Linked DNA regions of Homo sapiens: regions 2 and 3 are each linked to region 1. Evidence: promoter capture Hi-C in 16 types of primary human blood cells and fetal thymus (Javierre and others, 2016). All regions are on one chromosome and are shown on one strand. The core of a region is centred on a gene start or on the middle of the fragment in contact, and the rest is flanking DNA. Distances in the headings are between cores, read along the strand shown.

Region 1 (4,186 bases), core at 493-2,992:
CATATAAACTGAATCATACACTATTTAGTCCTTTCTGTCTGGCTCGTTTCAGTTAGCATAACGTTTTCAAGGTTCATCAATGTTTCAGCGTGTATCAGAACTTCATTCTTTTTCAAGGCTGAATAAGTCATCTGTAGCTATATACCATATTTTGTTTATGCATTCATCTGTTAATGAACATTCTGGGTTATTTCTACCTTTTGGTTATTATGAATAGTGCTACTGTAAATATATGTATACAAGTATCTGAGTTCCTGCTTTCAGTTATTTTGAACATCTATATCAAAGCGGAATTGCTTGATCATGTGGTTATACTATGTTTAACTTTTTGAGGAATCATCAAACTGTTTTTCCAAAAAGTCTGGACTATTTAACATTGCCATCAGCAACGCATACGGTTTCAATTTCTCCACATCTGCCAACAATTACTTTCCTTTTTTTTTATAGTAGCCATCCTAGTAGGTATTAAGTGGTATCTCATGATTTTTTTTTTCATTTCCCTAAAGACTAGTGGTGTTGAGCACTCTTTCATATGCTTATCCACCATTTGTACAGTTGGCCTTCCATATCTGTGGGCTCTGCATCTGTGGCTTCAACCAACCATGAATTGGAAATATTCCAAAACAAATTTCATCTGTATTGAACATGTACAGACTTTTTGTCATTATTCCCTAAACAATACAACACTATTTAGATTTATGTTGTATTAGGTATTATAAGTGATCTAGAGATGACTTAGTCATCTCTAGGATGACACAGGAGGATGTGCATAGGTTATATGCAAATACTGCATCATTTTATGTAAGGAACTTGAGCATCCTTGGATTTTGGTACCCAAGGGGGTCCTGAAACAAATCCCCCACAGATACCAAGTGGATAGTCATTCTCTTGGAATGTATCTTCTTTGGAGAAATGTCTATTCAAGTCCTTTGCCCTTTTTTGAACTGAACTGTTTGGGGGTTTTTCGTTCTTGTAGTTCTTTACATATTCTAGAGATGAATCCTTTATCAGATATATGAGTTGCAACTATTTTCTCTCAATCTGTGAATTTTCACTTGCACAGCGCTTTTAACTCTTGAAAATTATGCTGCTTCTATTATTTATGTGTATCCCGATCTCTTGCCCTCGTGACCCGCCCGTCTCAGCCTCCCAAAGTGCTGGGACTACAAGGCGTGAGCCACTGTGCCTGGCCATCTATGTGTATCTCAAAACAACCTTGTAGGATGTATACTGTCTCCACTTTACAGATAAGAAAACTGAAATCCAATCAAAGATAGCACACTCCAAAGATTGCTCCAAAGACAGCACAACAATAACAAACTTGTAGTTGTTATTGCTGTTAGTGTTATCCCTTTGAATAATAGAGAGTAACAGAAGCTGCTTCAAAAAGGTCTAGGACTGGTGGGAAAATAAGAGAGCAGACCCCCAACAGAGGTTGCGAGCAGAGCCAGGGATCACAGAGTTTTATCTGCCCTCGGTACGCTGATTTCCAAAACCCAGCCTCATATTCTATACTCCAAAGCGCACTGCCAGGTGGGCCAACTCCAGCCCCCACAATCCGATGCCAAGGCCACTTCTTGCCACTTCCTGCCCGCCTCCAGCCCGCCCCTAACAAGCTAGCGCATGCGCTGTAGGACTATTTGCGCGCCGTTCCCCCCGGTGAGCCTGCACACCGTGCTTCCGGCGCGGAGATGAACTTCCACATGCCCCGGCGCTTGTTGATGACGTAACTTCCGGTTGCTGTGCTGAGTCGGAAGTGGGAACCCTTCGGCCGCTGAGATTCTGTCGTGTCGTCGCTGCTGGCACTTCAGGCTCTGGTAAGACAGGCAATAGCTTCAGGGGACGGGGTCGTTGACTTTGCGTTGTGATATTTTCTGCTGGTCCAATGCCACTTCAAGCCTGTTCACTCTTATCTTCTCCAAATTCCTTCTCCTATGCTTTGCTAACCAGGGACCTTCTCCTTCTTGAACTTCGACCCTGTCTGATTTGGAACCCCTTACAGTGCCCCAGCTTCTGATGTCTCTTTGTACATTTCTGTCCCCATCTTTGCCAAGCCCCTCCTGGAAGAGGCCGGAGCGCTATCATTGCATTATCTTTTGACTTAACTTTCTCTAGAACGTGCCCCGGGCGGGTGGATCTCCCTCCTTCCCGCGAATCCCTTATGGAGCATGGAAGGATAAAATATAAAGAGTAGATAACAAATAGGCAGATGCCAAGAAGATAAGATTAATCGTGAGTCGTAAGCAAACCAGTTCAATGCATACGTCAGGGTGTTGATAATTCTTAAGGCAGGTGATGAGTTCACCACAGATAACTCTTGGGGCACTCTGCTTCATGTTTCCTTGGGTTTAGAAGACACTTCTAAAATTGAGTGACCATGCCTCATGACCTTATATTTGATGAGCCTTCCTTTTAGGATCAGTTTTATGCCCTGACAGCAAGCATGTGTTTAGTCTCGCTGTCATTTACTGTTTTGGTCTCACGTGGAAGCCCACCTGCGATAAAATGGGATCCAAGAAGGACTGCTGTCTGCTTTTTGACTTGAGATCCTTCTAGGCTGCAGATAGATGTGTTGATGGAATTTGTTGCCACATTAGCATGGCCTGATAGTGTTAGGTGAAACATACGACAACGAAAATTGTTTCTTAATTTCTATTTTAAATTGATATTTTAATTTCTATTTTATATTGATATATGTATTATTTGCCAGGACACAGACCTTATGGGAGTATGATTTGATAGAGCTTGATTTTGACGATCCCAGTTTTACAAAGTGTTCCAGATATTTCTGTTGAAAAACAATACCAAGTCTGATGTTAACACACTTGTGTGTTCATGAGAGCTGACAGTGGTCTTAAAGGATTAGTGGTACTATTCATAAACAAAAGCTTGTATTAGGAGGAAGTGACAGAATTTTGTAGGACAGCTATTATAGATATAGATCTTTGCAGCAAGTGTATCAGAGTGAAACTTGTTTTCAAGGAGGATATATTTTAAAAGAATCAAATCCAAAAGCTTCTAAGGTTGGTAGCTGTACCATCCCAAAGTGTCTGACAACAGGATAGTGTTGTATCTCTGTATGGCAGTTGAAAATAGGAAAAAAAATACATACATATATGTATGTATATATGTGTGTGTGTGTGTGTGTGTATTTTTTTTTTTTTTTTTTTGAGACAGAGTCTGGCTCTGTCACCCAGGCTCTGCTCTGGAGTGCAGTGGCACGATCTCAGCTCACGGCAACCTCCATCTCCCAGTTTAAAAGTGATTCTCCTGCCTCAGCCTCCCAAGTAGTGGGATTACAGCCTGGCTAAGGTGTGGTGGTATGCGCCTGTAATCGCTTTTAGTGGAGACGGGGTTTCACCACATTGGCCAGGCTGGTCTCAAACTCCTGACTTCAAGTGATCTGTCTGCCTTGGCCTCCCAAAGTGCTGGGATTACAGGCATGACCTACTGCGCCCGGCGCTGAAAATAGGAGATTATAAATCCCGAATGACATTATTGAATATTAAACAAAATATTTAGGTTTCATTTTATCGGACCTTTAGAGTGGGTGATTATCTGGGTACTCTTACTTTGGTAAGTCCATTGAACAAATCTAAACTGGCATCTCCACAAAGGTTCTCATCAAGTGATCAGTCCTCCTTTTTCCTGTAAAATTTTTCTATAAGTGACTACACAGTTTTAGCCCTTTTTTAATGAAAAAAAGTTTGTGCACAGATTTGACATACGTGTGAAAAAGATGAGCTTAGTGAAAGATAGGTGAGAACCTTTTTGTTTTTTACAGATAGTAGAGATGACAACAGAGACTTATTTCCATCCACCATTCTACACATGCCAAGATACCAAAGAACCAGTGTCTAGCCTGGTAGCTTGACCTTCCACTGCAACCTAAGACAAGTAGTAAAGCCCTTACCTTGAAGTAGGGTCATGGGTGATGCTGTTGATTACAAGGAGTTCAGAAAGAACTACATGTAAGATTGAAGCCATTCAATAACTACTTATTTAGGATTTTGTGATTGTGATGTATAATGCCAGACACAGAAGAAAGAATAATCAGATATGAACATGTAATCAGAAGAGCTTACAGCCTAGCAATGTAGAAGATCTGCTTAGAAATACAATGCAGAAAGTTTAAAATCCTAGTAAAAATAGAGGTAAAATGTAGAAAGCTAGTTTCTTTATACAG
Region 2 (4,186 bases), core at 981-3,480, 190 kb before region 1:
CTGAGCTGATGAGTTTAGCATTTCCAGATGGGCTTGACTCGCTCACCTCACCCAGGTGTTACCAGGCTGGTTGCCCATCCCCCACTCTGCACCCACTCTGCCTGGCCTCTGCACCCTTGACCCTGTTGTATTGCCCCTCTTCCCTGCTGTTTCTCCCTTCCCAGGGCACAGATTCTAGAATCTCTTCATCTTCCCCAACTGTAGCCTTGGAAGCAGTGTCTTGCAGAGGTGGAATTAGATGCACCAAAAAGTTAATCTTGGTCCCTACAGTGCCAACCTGGCAGTCCCCAGTGCTTATGGCTTTGTGTATATCCCCAGTGCCCGGCACAGTGCCTGGCACATAATAGATGCTCAATAAATGGTTGCTGAATTGAAGCAAATTAAGCTGAATCTCCCAGATGATATTGCTGTCTCCCCAAATTGGCAATCTGATGGGCAGAGGCAGGGATTGGTCCCTGAGACTGTCACGGTCCTGTCTCCACCCCCTTTCCTAGACTTATTCCCTACCCTGGGCACCTGACTCCTTGAGTAGGGGTGGGGCAGAGCTCCTGGAAAGGCTGGGAAGTGCTGGGGCAGGGAATGGGGCATTTGCCAGCAGCTGTGCCCTTCACACTTGCTCCCTCCCTCCCTGCTTCCCTCCACTCCTCCTCAGTCCTGGCCAGAGGGGCTGGGCTCCTGGGAGGGGGCAGGGCTAGAGAAGCCCACCCCTCCAACTCGCCCCATCATAGACCAGGACACAGAGGCCCCTCCCACTGGGAAAATGATGGCTCTGTTGCTTCAAACTGGAGACTGAGGAGCCAGAGAAGAGGGCAGGACCCTCAGTTTCTGTCAGTTGGAACCTCAGTTTCCCCATTTTAAGTGAGTGACTTGGCTAGTTGATCTCTGAGGATCTTCCAAGGTCATGGTCTCAGAGTCAGTGTTTCTGCCTCTTGCTCCTTCTCTCAGGCCTAATCAATTTCCATTGAATGTGAGTGTAATGGCAGTGATGGTTGGCTCCGCACAATTGCCTTTTTTTTTTTTTTTTTTTTTTTTTGAGATGGAGTCTCTCTATGTCACCCAGGCTGAATTGCAGTGGCACTATCACTATCTCAGTTCACTGCAACCTCTGCTTCCCGGGCTCAAGCGATTCTCCTGCCTCAGCCTCCCAAATAGCTGGGATTACAGGCACACGCCACCACGCCCAGCTAATTCTTGTATTTTTAGTAGAGATGGGGTTTTGCCCATTTCTACTAAACAGATGGAGGTAATCCACCCGCCTTGGCCTCCCAAAGTGCTGGGATTACAGGCGTGAGCCACTGTGCCTGGCCTACAATTGTCACTTTTGTCCCCACGAAGGGAGTTGTTGGGAGAGGAGCGAGTAGTGTGGCTGCAGATGGGACAGGGCTGGCATTGGCAGCTCAGGTTCCAAGGCCTCCCCTTATGCCGGCCTCAGGCTTTCCCTTCCCTCTCTGTAGCCAAAAGCCAGGTGGAAACCCCACCAAGGGCAACTGGGAGAGTTCTCACTGAAGCCCCAAAGAAAGCTGCCCCACCCTGTGCATGGCCTCCTCATTTCCCAGCCTTGGCTGCCCCTGCCCAGGCGAGGGTGGTTACCCCATGGAGAAGGCAGAGCCTGCAGCAACCTGCATTCACCATGGAGCCCCACCCCTCAGCCCCTCAGCTGACTTTGAAACTGGCCTCTGTTGGTGGGTCCCCGCTGGGAAACATGGCCCCCTACCTGGAGCTGCTCTTCCAGTCTGGCCTCATCCACAGTCCTAAGGGATTAGGAGCCAACGGGAGCCCCAAGGAGGCCACTAGCAATGGAAACGAGGGCCCAACATGGCCTCCTGGGCCAGGGCACATGTCCAGCTTTGCCTGCAGCCCTGGCTTTCCGTCAGTGCCCTGGAATGCACAGTCATCCCTTTAACATGCCCCTCCAAGTTTCAGGAACTCATCGTCACCTCCAGCCTGATGGCTGCTCTGGGCTGGGAGCAGGGGAGGAGCACAGCCGTGCCAGGCCAAGGCCCTCCTGAGGGAGCGCTGTCAGCACAGGAAAGCCCTCCCTCCCCACCAGGTCCTCTCTGAAGCCACTGCCAGGCCAAGCACTGGGCAGGTGGACAGCGGCCCCCTCCTCTACCCCTGCCCACCCACTCCCTTCTCTCTGGGGACCCTCACATGTGCCTCCTGCCTCCCCCCAGGGACTGGCAGGTGGGAGCCCTTTCTCTCCTCTCCCCAGGGCCCACACGTCCCAGAGCATGGCAGGTTTCTCGGATGGAAGAGAGTGGGTCACTCTTGGTGCAGGGTGGGAGATACGAAGTCGGGGGTTCAGGAGGCCCCAGGTGGGCCCTGGGGTCCTAGGTCACGGGAAGCACACCAAGAGCGAGCAGGCAGGGTCACTGTACAGGGCGGAGAGGGGAGGAGACGGGACACGGGAGGCTGCAGGGCCGGCCACCCACTACTTGGCGCCATCATCCGGGTTGCCTTCACCGTCCGTCTTGCCCTCCTCCTCGGTCTTCAGGTCATCTGTGCTCAGCTTCTGCTCTTTTTTTCTCCTCACACACTTGACCACCATCAGCACCAAGATGACCACAGCCAGGAAGCCCCCGACGGAGGCACCCACAATCACGGCCACCGTGGAGTCCCGCTCAGGGGGCTCTGGAAAGGAAGCAGAGCCACTGAGCACCAGGGCTGGGAAAGGGGCCTCCCCCATCACCCCACTACCCGTGGCATGCGTGGAACCATCCTGACTTTACTCTCCTCCACAGACAGGACTTTAGCAAAGCCGAAAAGCAATCCAGTGACTGACCCTGAAGCGCCGCCACCTCCAAATCCCAGGACACCCAAAGCCCCCAGAGGAGCTAGTGTGATGAAGTATTTAAGAGCATGAACTTTAAGATCAAACAGACCCAAATTTGAGTCCTAATTGTACAACTTACGAATTGCGTGACCTTAAGTAACTTATCCTCTCTAACCTCAGTTTTCTAACATGTAAAATGGGCTTAATAATAGTACCTCCCTCAAAGGTTTTCATGAGGATGAGATAATGCATAAACAGAGCTTAGCCCTATGACTGAGACATAGAGGTGCCCAATAAATGAAAGCTGCCATCATCACCATCATTATTATTGCTGTTGTTGTCATTTGAAACAGGGTCTTGCTCTGTTGCCCAAGCTGGAGTGCAGTGGCACAATCATGATTCACTGCAGCCTCTACCTGCTGGGCTCAGATGATCCTCTCACCTCAGCCTCCCAAGTAGCTGGGAGTATAGGTGCAAGCCACCATGCCCAGCTAATTTTTGCATTTTCTGTAGAGATGGAGTTTTGCCATGTTGCCCAGGCTGGTCTCGAGCTCCTGAGCTCAAGCTATCTGCCTGCCTCAGCCTCCCAAAGCGCTGTGATTACAGGTGTGAGCCATCACACCAAGCCCCATTATTAAGACTGGGATTATATTCTGTATCATTACCAGGACTCTCTGGGACATGTTCCCAGGTTCTTGAGGACTAGAGGGAAGAAAATGGATTCCTTCTATGCAGCACAAATGGTTGCTCCCATCCTCAGGAGGGCCTGGCCTCCCCAAAGTGCCCTGAGCAAATGCCGCAGAGAGTAGGTGGGTGGGAAAGGTCAGGGCCCCGCAGCTGGCACCCCAGCCTTCACCTTCCATGAGGACCTGCAGATGGATCTTGCCATGGCCACGGTGGCGGTCAGGGGGGTTCATGATGTAGCAGTTGTAAATCCCCTCATCCTCCGGCTGCACGTTTCTCAGCATCACCGACACATCGTACTTGCTGGGGTTCCCTGAGAACTCCACGCGGTCTTGAAACCGCTCCAGCTTCAGGTTAATGATCTTCATGCGGAACTGGAGGAACTGGGGTTGGAGCAAGGGACAGGATGGGTGGCTGGATGAGCAAGGAACTACAAGGACAGTGAGGATGCCCCCTCTTCCCATCCACCCTTTTCCTGGGGAAGAGAGGCAGTTACCTCTGTGAGGCACCTGGATGCGCAGCACACCTTGTTTCAAGAGCCTCCAGAGCACGCAGCCCACCCAGGGTCCTCTGGGGCCCTAGCGCAGTGCCGGGGCCGGTGGTGGGACCAGGGGCTTCATGCCATGGGGCTCCTACCTCCTCCCCTGCCCCTGCCTTCAGCCCAGGACTCACCATCTCCTCAGAGCAGTTGTTGCACTCCTGGTAAGTCCAGTTCAGGGAGAACTGTTT
Region 3 (4,186 bases), core at 1,687-4,186, 170 kb after region 1:
AAGTGCCAGCAGGGGACTGGGAAAAGCACTCTACCCAGACCTCACCTCCCTTCCTCCTTTTGCCCATGAACAAGATGCAGTGGCCCTAGGGGTTCCACTAGTGTCTGCTTTCCTTTATTATTGCACTGTGTGAGGTTTTTTTGTAAATCCTTGTATTCCTATTTTTTTTAAAGAAAAAAAAAAAACCTTAAGCTGCATTTGTTACTGAAATGATTAATGCACTGATGGGTCCTGAATTCACCTTGAGAAAGACCCAAAGGCCAGTCAGGGGGTGGGGGGAACTCAGCTAAATAGACCTAGTTACTGCCCTGCTAGGCCATGCTGTACTGTGAGCCCCTCCTCACTCTCTACCAACCCTAAACCCTGAGGACAGGGGAGGAACCCACAGCTTCCTTCTCCTGCCAGCTGCAGATGGTTTGCCTTGCCTTTCCACCCCCTAATTGTCAACCACAAAAATGAGAAATTCCTCTTCTAGCTCAGCCTTGAGTCCATTGCCAAATTTTCAGCACACCTGCCAGCAACTTGGGGGAATAAGCGAAGGTTTCCCTACAAGAGGGAAAGAAGGCAAAAACGGCACAGCTATCTCCAAACACATCTGAGTTCATTTCAAAAGTGACCAAGGGAATCTCCGCACAAAAGTGCAGATTGAGGAATTGTGATGGGTCATTCCCAAGAATCCCCCAAGGGGCATCCCAAATCCCTGAGGAGTAACAGCTGCAAACCTGGTCAGTTCTCAGTGAGAGCCAGCTCACTTATAGCTTTGCTGCTAGAACCTGTTGTGGCTGCATTTCCTGGTGGCCAGTGACAACTGTGTAACCAGAATAGCTGCATGGCGCTGACCCTTTGGCCGGAACTTGGTCTCTTGGCTCCCTCCTTGGCCACCCACCACCTCTCGCACAGCCCCTCTGTTTTTACACCAATAACAAGAATTAAGGGGGAAGCCCTGGCAGCTATACGTTTTCAACCAGACTCCTTTGCCGGGACCCAGCCCGCCACCCTGCTCGCCTCCGTCAAACCCCCGGCCAATGCAGTGAGCACCATGTAGCTCCCTTGATTTAAAAAAAATAAAAAATAAAAAAAAAAGGAAAAAAAAATACAACACACACACAAAAATAAAAAAAATATTCTAATGAATGTATCTTTCTAAAGGACTGACGTTCAATCAAATATCTGAAAATACTAAAGGTCAAAACCTTGTCAGATGTTAACTTCTAAGTTCGGTTTGGGATTTTTTTTTTTTAATAGAAATCAAGTTGTTTTTGTTTTTAAGGAAAAGCGGGTCATTGCAAAGGGCTGGGTGTAATTTTATGTTTCATTTCCTTCATTTTAAAGCAATACAAGGTTATGGAGCAGATGGTTTTGTGCCGAATCATGAATACTAGTCAAGTCACACACTCTGGAAACTTGCAACTTTTTGTTTGTTTTGGTTTTCAAATAAATATAAATATGATATATATAGGAACTAATATAGTAATGCACCATGTAACAAAGCCTAGTTCAGTCCATGGCTTTTAATTCTCTTAACACTATAGATAAGGATTGTGTTACAGTTGCTAGTAGCGGCAGGAAGATGTCAGGCTCACTTTCCTCTGATTCCCGAAATGGGGGGAACCTCTAACCATAAAGGAATGGTAGAACAGTCCATTCCTCGGATCAGAGAAAAATGCAGACATGGTGTCACCTGGATTTTTTTCTGCCCATGAATGTTGCCAGTCAGTACCTGTCCTCCTTGTTTCTCTATTTTTGGTTATGAATGTTGGGGTTACCACCTGCATTTAGGGGAAAATTGTGTTCTGTGCTTTCCTGGTATCTTGTTCCGAGGTACTCTAGTTCTGTCTTTCAACCAAGAAAATAGAATTGTGGTGTTTCTTTTATTGAACTTTTAACAGTCTCTTTAGTAAATACAGGTAGTTGAATAATTGTTTCAAGAGCTCAACAGATGACAAGCTTCTTTTCTAGAAATAAGACATTTTTTGACAACTTTATCATGTATAACAGATCTGTTTTTTTTCCTTGTGTTCTTCCAAGCTTCTGGTTAGAGAAAAAGAGAAAAAAAAAAAAGGAAAATGTGTCTAAAGTCCATCAGTGTTAACTCCCTGTGACAGGGATGAAGGAAAATACTTTAATAGTTCAAAAAATAATAATGCTGAAAGCTCTCTACGAAAGACTGAATGTAAAAGTAAAAAGTGTACATAGTTGTAAAAAAAAGGAGTTTTTAAACATGTTTATTTTCTATGCACTTTTTTTTATTTAAGTGATAGTTTAATTAATAAACATGTCAAGTTTATTGCTGCACATGGTTAAGCTTCCTTTTGGCTTTGGTTGGAGAGGGTGGAGAAAAGCGGGAGGGGCATGGCCTGTGACCTGGTCACAAAGTACCTTCCACAGTCCTTTACTTTAAGGTGGCATCACTAAATTATTCCCTGTAGCCCACCTTCAGGTCCACTCCACACTGGCTCTCTTGACTATTTTCTTCCTTTATTCATCAGTGATGTATGTTCAGGACCTAATTAATTGTGGATATGAGGCAGGGTCAAGAGGACAAAGGAACAGGGCCTTTACCTTCTACATAGCTCCCCTGTTTCATCCAAGGAGGTTAAGTATTGATTTTTATCGGTTTTCTCAACTGTGAATATAATAAACTGAAAGCATTTCAGGGAGAAGCTGGAGAACACCTTCTCTAGCTGCACTCCACCTTAAGGCTGAAGCTGGATTTGTTTACTGTTTCTCCTGGGGGCAGGGGCAGTTGAGAAATAACCAAGTAGTCTGCCAAGCCAGGGTCAACCCTCCAGGCCACAGGTTGAGCAAATGCTACAGCCATGGACAGGGAGACACTCCTCACGAAGGGGTGGTCCTCATCCTTTCAGATCAACTTCCTGCTGGAGGCTCCACCCTCACCACGTCCCTCCCTCTTCTCTCATCTGGAGTCACCTTTTGGGATTTTGGAGTTGAGCACCATGGGGACTCCAAATGATCAGGCAGTGCTGCAGGCCATCTTCAACCCTGACACCCCATTTGGAGACATTGTTGGATTGGACCTCGGAGAGGAAGCAGAAAAGGAAGAACGAGAAGAAGGTGGGCATTTGATCTGGAGTGTAGCTCTGCACATAGGCTGGCCTGCTGGCCTCCCGAGGTAGCAGAGAGGGAGGTGGTTTTATAAGGCCCCTTGTTCCATGATTATGATTGAGATTGGAATCAGAGAGGTTGGCTGCTCCTTAGCGCACTGATGGGGGTTTGGTAAGAGATGTCCTGCCAAGAGGAGTAAGCTGGGGTTTGTCTCTCGATCCATCAGCTCTCATGCCTCTGAACTTACCACTTAATTGACTGTATGATCCAAGCTTAACTGCCAGGTGATGTTAAACTCTCACATTTTTGTCATAACAGAGAATACCACCACCAGAACAGAAGACTGAAATAAGGCAGGGCATGGTTGCTCAGTTGAGTGGTTCCAATATAGCAAGCACAACCAGTAACCGTTAAACACTGTCACAAGCCAAGCTCCAAACTAACTCTTCCGCAGTGAGTGCGTTCACTGGCTTTTCCATTAATCCCTAATGAAGGAGTTTTTGATCCTTTGTTTCTAGAGGAGTAAAGCCTACACCTTACTAACTCAGGCCGAAACACAGAGGGATACGTCAGAAGTGATGTTCATGATCTGGGAATGTCATGGTGGCCTTTGCATAAGAGGCGGTGTAGTAGAGTAAAATGCAGACAGGAGCCAGAATGACCTGGGTTCAAATCCAAGCTCTGCAACGTATGGCCTGTTGAGGCCATACACAAAGAACTTGAGCAACTTCTTTAACAGATTGAGGAGTCTGGGCTTCATTCTCTTGGCAATGGGGAACCAACCAAGGCCCCTTCCCAGGTCTCTTGGAACTCAGGCAATGCTAGCTCCCAGCCTTAGTGACCTCATCTCCCCCTACCCCAAACACTGCAACTGACCCCTGCTGTGACCCATACCCAGTCAGCTCTGGCTCAGATCTCAGAATTCCAAAGCCTGAGGTGGCTTTTTCTTCTTGCTACCAACTGCACACCTGGCTTCTCCTGGCTCCTTCCCTGGCCCAGATGAAGTTTTCCCTCAAGCACAGCTGGAACAGTCCAAGGCCCTGGAGCTGCAGGGGGTGATGGCAGCAGAGGCTGGGGACCTCAGCACAGCCCTGGAGAGGTTTGGCCAAGCCATCTGCCT

Evidence for each region. The method cuts DNA at HindIII sites, captures the fragments that hold promoters and counts their contacts. A CHiCAGO score of 5 or more calls a contact.
Region 2: a fragment that was not itself captured here is called in contact with the fragment with the promoter of UBE4A in region 1 in 6 of 17 cell types (neutrophils, activated CD4 T cells, M2 macrophages and 3 more); the score reaches 8.7 in neutrophils.
Region 3: a contact is called between the fragment with the promoter of TTC36 here and the fragment with the promoter of UBE4A in region 1, in 2 of 17 cell types (activated CD4 T cells and non-activated CD4 T cells). The highest score is 6.0, in activated CD4 T cells.

What each region holds. Positions count from the first base shown.
Region 1 is chr11:118,357,858-118,362,043 of GRCh38, forward strand. It overlaps UBE4A (ubiquitination factor E4A), which reads left to right and starts at 1,743. Exons shown (of 20, transcript NM_001204077.2): 1 at 1,743-1,817. RefSeq lists an enhancer at 1,680-1,749. The HindIII fragment of the contact is 13,441 bases long and covers 1-2,886 here.
Region 2 is chr11:118,164,456-118,168,641 of GRCh38, forward strand. SCN2B (sodium voltage-gated channel beta subunit 2) reads right to left here. Exons shown (of 4, transcript NM_004588.5): 2 at 4,130-4,186; 3 at 3,630-3,840; 4 at 1-2,631. The coding sequence ends at 2,432. Among named protein-coding and RNA genes, the nearest start is that of SCN2B, 10 kb to the right of the region's middle. The HindIII fragment of the contact is 6,967 bases long and covers 1-4,186 here.
Region 3 is chr11:118,524,538-118,528,723 of GRCh38, forward strand. TTC36 (tetratricopeptide repeat domain 36) reads left to right here and starts at 2,937. Exons shown (of 3, transcript NM_001080441.4): 1 at 2,937-3,075; 2 at 4,066-4,186. The coding sequence starts at 2,958. It overlaps KMT2A (lysine methyltransferase 2A), which reads left to right. Exons shown (of 36, transcript NM_001197104.2): 36 at 1-2,295. All of the region lies in intron 1 of TTC36-AS1 (TTC36 and KMT2A antisense RNA 1), which reads right to left. The HindIII fragment of the contact is 1,033 bases long and covers 2,304-3,336 here.